Linked DNA regions of Homo sapiens: region 1 is linked to region 2. Evidence: promoter capture Hi-C in 16 types of primary human blood cells and fetal thymus (Javierre and others, 2016). All regions are on one chromosome and are shown on one strand. Each heading gives the region's core, a stretch centred on a gene start or on the middle of the fragment in contact. The rest is flanking DNA. Distances are from core to core; before and after follow the strand shown.

What was found. Contacts are between HindIII fragments. The CHiCAGO score rates a contact against its expected background, and 5 or more counts as called.
Region 1: a fragment that was not itself captured here is called in contact with the fragment with the promoter of CLEC12B in region 2 in 4 of 17 cell types (M0 macrophages, megakaryocytes, M1 macrophages and 1 more); the score reaches 8.9 in M0 macrophages.

What each region holds. Positions count from the first base shown.
Region 1 is chr12:9,749,260-9,752,298 of GRCh38, forward strand. No RefSeq gene overlaps it. Among named protein-coding and RNA genes, the nearest start is that of CD69, 10 kb to the right of the region's middle. RefSeq lists an enhancer at 1,454-1,748 and a silencer at 2,209-2,288. The HindIII fragment of the contact is 1,330 bases long and covers 757-2,086 here.
Region 2 is chr12:10,009,269-10,012,198 of GRCh38, forward strand. It overlaps CLEC12B (C-type lectin domain family 12 member B), which reads left to right and starts at 1,359. Exons shown (of 6, transcript NM_001129998.3): 1 at 1,359-1,582. The coding sequence starts at 1,492. The HindIII fragment of the contact is 2,412 bases long and covers 582-2,930 here.

The sequences.
Region 1 (3,039 bases), core at 172-2,671, 260 kb before region 2:
AATTGCTTGAACCCGGGAGGCAGAAGCTGCAGTGAGCGGAGATCGAGCCACAGCATTCCAGCCTGGGCGACAGAGTGAGACTCGGAAAAAAAAAAAAAAGGAAAAAAAGAAGAAAGAAAGAAAGAAAAAAGAGAAAAGAAAAAGAAAGGAAAGAAAGAAAGAGATCCAAAATTATAGAAAAACATAAAGAAAATAAATACTTCCTATATTCCTCCTCCTCAGGGAAAACCACTGTGTTTACTTTAGTAGTTTTACTTTCTGTCAGCATATAGAAATATAAAACATGTTTTGTATATTTAATATTGAACAGGAAATAATCCTATTGTATATATTATTTTAAACTAGCAGCAATAATAGTTTGAGTATTCTTTCATATACATAAATGTTCTTCATTATTTTTTAATGTTGGGATAGCATTTCATCATGTAGGAGCATTATATTTATTTAACTAAATCTTTGGTTTTGGACAATTAGGTAGCTTCTGATTTTTCACTACTAGAAATATCCCTTTGATAAACATTTTTGTGGTTATGTCTTGCACATCCAAGATTATTTCTTTAAAATCTCCCTCCCTCCCCAGTAAGTATTGTCAAGCTGCTTTCCAAAGGGTAAAGGAAACCAGTTTACACCATCACCAGCAGTCGTTCTGGTCATATATTTCCCAATATTTTTCCCTGAAAAATCATTTACATTTTAATTTCAGTTATAATACATTTTCATGTGCAAAATCTAATCAAATTATGAAAATTGACAGCAAGCTTAAAAATATCATTTCTATATTAGTATCATACAATTTTTAAGTAGTTGAATACTGACTATAGCACCTAACAGTTCAATGGCATTTTAGCCTTTTTAAAAAGTTTTATCCAATCCCTACAATTATGTGAAATGTGCAGCTGATGTATTCCCCTTTCCAGAGGAAGAAATTGAAATTATGTTGAAAAAGCAACGCAAAACACGGATAACTGATAGTTTTATTTTACACATATTTATGTAACTATCCAAGATGAATGTAGCCTACAGAGTTAAAATTTTGATAATTAGCTAAAGGTTTGAATACAGGAGTATATCTTTAATATGCTTCCATAGCACCCTACGTTTTTCCTATTATAACATTCATCACACCATGTCAATTCATCTTGTTGTTTGTTTTACAAATAGACCACGAATTCCACAAGGCCAGTTGCCATGCGGAATTTGCTGAGTATTTTAACTCTGGTGTCCACCATAGTAGTAGGTGCTTACTTATAACTTGTGAAATGAAATTTTTAAAAGGCTTTCCAAAAACAAATACAAATAAGATATATTACGTAGAAATAGACATGTCGTGTAGAAACGCGGCTTTATGCCAATACTGGAAGTTTGAAGACATAGTGTTTCTAGTTCTAATAATCATCATGAGTATTTAATACATGCCTATGGTGTACTAGGGAGCCAGATAATGTTTTAAGTTTGTTTTCATGTACTAACTAATTTAACATCTAACTAATTTTAGCTGAATTTTGAACGAGTTCTGATAAAATAGCTAGTCAGCCCGCGCGTGGCAGAGATGAAACTCGGGCGGTCTGGCCCCCGTGCTTTGGGTCTCAGCAGCTCCACGCTCCACATAGATGTTTTGTAGGATCCTTAAAACAGAAGTGCAGTAATCTCGTATAACCACTAGATGGCACTGCAACTTTTGTAACAGGGGACTTAGCCGGGGGCAGGAGGGGTTCTTGAGACAAACCCATTTTTTATATTTGTCATTGGTCACTTGCAAGTAGAGTCATACTTTAAATAATAACATTATTCCCTTTAAGAATTGTATATTTTTTATCTATTTAAAGAAAACAGTTGTCCTTATGAATAAAATGACTTCAAATTATGTGTAAAAAATAACTCTGTTATCCGTGTTTTGCGTCGCTTTTTCAACATAATTTCAACTTCTTCCTCTGGAAAGGGAAATACATCAGCTGCTCATTTCACATAATTATAGGGATTCAATAAAATTATTTGTAAAAATGATAAAATTCATTGAATTGTTAGGTGATACAGTCAGTATTCAATGACTTAAAAATTGTGTCATACTAATATAGAAATATTTTTAAGCTTGCTCTCAATTTTCATAATTTGATTAGATTTATGCACATAAAAATATGTTATAACTAAAATATTAATCGCAAGACATTGTTTTCTAAGATGACTCGGGAGTAGATTGTTGGTAATGATAGAATATTACCGCTAGGAGGCTGCTTGTTTCTTTTTTCCCACAGCTGTGGGAACTCAGGAGCACAGAGGTCATTATTTTTCACTAAGCAGTGTCTGAAATCCACATTTCTGTTTGCCGTTTGCCAATAGTTTAGAGATACCATACACATCATACATTTCCAACAAGCAGAGAAGAATATTGCAAATTACATTTATAAAACAATTTTGAAGGTAATCAAATGTATTAGGCTATTCTTGCATTGCTATAAAAATATCTGAGACTGGGTAATTTATAAAGAAAAAAGGCTTAATTGGCTTACGGTTCTGCAGTTTTTACAAGCATAATGCTGACACTGCTCAGCTTCCGCGGAAGCTTAGGGAGCTTTTATGTATGTTGGAAGGTGAAGTGGAGTGGGAGCAGGCATGTCACATGGAGAAAGCAGGAAAGAGAGAGAGAAAGAGAGAGAGAGAGAGAGAAAGTGCTGCACACTTTGAAAAGACCAGATCTCCTGAGAACTCACTCAGGTGCAAGGAGACCATCAAGAGGATGATGCTAAACCATTCATGAGAGATTCGCTCCCATGATGTAATCACCTCCCACCAGGCCCCACCTCCAACAAAGGGGATTACAATGCGACATGAGATTTGGGCAGGGACACACATCCAAACTACATCATTGAGTTTTTTGCTGATTGAAATATCCCATGAAGATTATGCCTCTTTTCTATATATTGAATTATTTTACATAAATAACTAAAGTGTATGTAGCACCTCAGAATTGAACAAGATACTTTCAGAGCATTGACTATGAGGAGTAATTATTACAGAGCATCTGCTATATACAGAAAAATG
Region 2 (2,930 bases), core at 109-2,608:
CCGCAAAGGTCCGCGGCTTCATTTTTGAAGTCAGCGAGACCAGGAACCCACCGGCAGGAACCAACTCCGGACACGGACCAGAACAGAGATAGAAAACCATTCTTAATTTCTTATTTTTGTAATCATCTATTTAAACTGGTCCTCATGTCAATGGTCTCTGCCTTTTCTGAATTCAACTAGAATAGTAAACATAAGCATAGATTTATTATTTGTTTCAATATTTTTGATAGTGGAGTTTTATTGATATATGACTTAGAGCCTCCAAACATTTTTTTGATTATTTCATCAATTTGAAAAAAAAAAAAACAAAAAACATGAACAAGTAACATATGTATATTTAGGTGTTTAGAGATCATGCACAGCGTTCCTAAAGAGAAAGTTTTTACATTGCCTTTCTGCATCTGCTTCACAGCTGTGGGGTGAGTGCACCTCACGCTGGACACCTTTGACTAAGATAATCTCCACACAGATATGAACCTTGGAAGTTTTAGATCACTCCCCACTCATCTGAAACCACAAAACTCATACCCAATCCTTCCCCTAAGTACAGTTATCTAATATTCTGCCTCTCCCCAAAGGAAAGCTTTAGAGGAGATTCCTTAATTTCGTCCCTCATATATAGCGCTCCCCCCCCATATTTTCCTGGGTTCTGTATTAACTACATATTGCTGCTGTAACAAATTACCACAGATGTATTAACTTCCGGTAGTTATCTTTTTAAAATCTTGTCCTGTGTATTCCTTGCTGTCTGCAGGATTATCCCATGGTTGTTGTTCTGTTAGGAACTTTCCCAACCATGCCAGAAGAGGGCACTCCCATTCATACTCACGTTAAGTAGCTAAGTAGCTATCAGTTTCTTCTCCATGCTCCATTACCAACACCATGTCTCTCTCTCTCTGTCTCTCTCTCTCTGTCTCTCTCTGTCTCTCTCTCACACACACACACACACACACACACACACACACACACGCTTGAATTTTCTATAATAGCAGCCAGGTGTGTGGCACAGCTCTTTCTGTCTTAATGTGTGTCTCTCTGCTTAATATCTAATGTGGCTGAGAATAAACTAGAACCAATGTCTCCAGGCAGATTAGCTAGCCTTAGATAGATGTAAAGAAGACAACCTGACTCTTTTCTGAAACATTCAGAGCATCCTCTACCCCGAGGATCATGGGAATTCCCTCATGTTCCTCCTGCTCTGCCTCAAGCACCCCTTCTTTGCTGCACAGCAAGAAACAGTTCTGACAGAGCAGACAGTTTGAGATCTGTAACATTCTAATGAGAATATCTCTAAGGAGAATATTTGGCTTTTCTCACTTTCTCTGTAGAGAAACAAATTGTCATTCTTCTCTTACAGAGGGGCAGTAGAGTGTGTCTGGGTCAGCTGAGTGACTACATCAAAGCTCCCAGCCTTGAAAAACACATGCTGTTCCCAGGCCTCAAGATATTGAAACATTAATTAGATAATTTAAAGTAGCGTTTTCTTCTACAATGTCTGAAGAAGTGACCTACGCGACACTCACATTTCAGGATTCTGCTGGAGCAAGGAATAACCGAGATGGAAATAACCTAAGAAAAAGAGGTAGGAGTTCAGAGAAGACCAGCTGTGTCCTTGGGGGAGTGGACAGGTGTTAAATGCTTTGAGGTGCCAGCTTTAATACTGGCGTTAAAGACATGTGCTGTGAAATCTCCAAAATGGGGACAAATAGTTGTGGAATGTATTAGAAAAGTGAGTGTTCCCAAGGTTGAAGTGAAAATATGTGGCTTTCAGAACCTCTTTAAAGTTGTGTGATATCACACAGTCAGAGAAATTCTGACTGCACATGCCAGAAATTGAGCTTGGGGAATTAGAGATTTCTTCTTATGAATATAATCCTTGATATTTATACCTTGTTAGAGATGCCAGGAGGATATTCTTTCAGAAACCAGATTGGAGGCTTCTAAAATAGAGAAGGTAGAGGACGTTTTTCTTTTAGATGATGTAAGTTACTTAAGAGAAAACTGGAAGATGAGTGAGTGGATTAGAAATAGATCAGAGCTAATTTTTCTTTTGTCAGTATTTTTTCAAATTTTAGGGTAGTTGAAATCCGAGCATAATTTGTAATGTTGAACCAGTAATAATAGTATCTGGGTAGTATTTTATGTACATTATATACAGATATAATTGTAATGAAAATCCACAATAATATTCGAATATTAGTATTTTCTCCATTACATAGATGAAAAAACTGAGGGTGAGAGAAATTAGATAATTTAAGCAAGCTCACACAACTGCTATGTGGGGAAGCCCAGTCTCAGTGCTGGTCTTCAGCTCATTCTCTTATGCCTAATTGGAAAAATAGCAGTCTCCATGGTCAAGACTCTGATTTAATATATAAGACCACATCTCTTATTTTCAGATATGTTAACTATCCAGGTTCTCCTGAATCATGTCAGTCATCTGAACTACTTTCTCCTGCCCTCTAGATTTATCTTTACATTTTGTGTGGTGCATGACATTTGAGGGAAGGATATTTACAAAAAGCCGATGGGAATAGACTTTGCATATGTCTAATAAATGTGGTTACACATTTTTGCCTTGTTTTGTTTTACTTTTTAATTCTAATTCTAACCTGTGAGGAAAAAGGAGGTGTGGATATGGTGCATATCACAGTGTACCTAGAGTCTGTCATGCTGTATCTAAAACATTGCGCTAGATGTTATTTGGACCTAAATCAAGGGATATGAAGCTAAGGAAAACATGACAACCATTGATATTTTAAACAACAACAATGACTAGGATGCTAACGGCTTTCTGGTCTATTCTGCTGTTTGTAGGTTAGACTGCACATTCTTTCCTTCTTTCATTCAGTATTCATTCATTATTTATTAGGTGATAAATAGCATGAATAATAGATAAGTTATTGTTAACAGGTAAAAGATACTTTAAA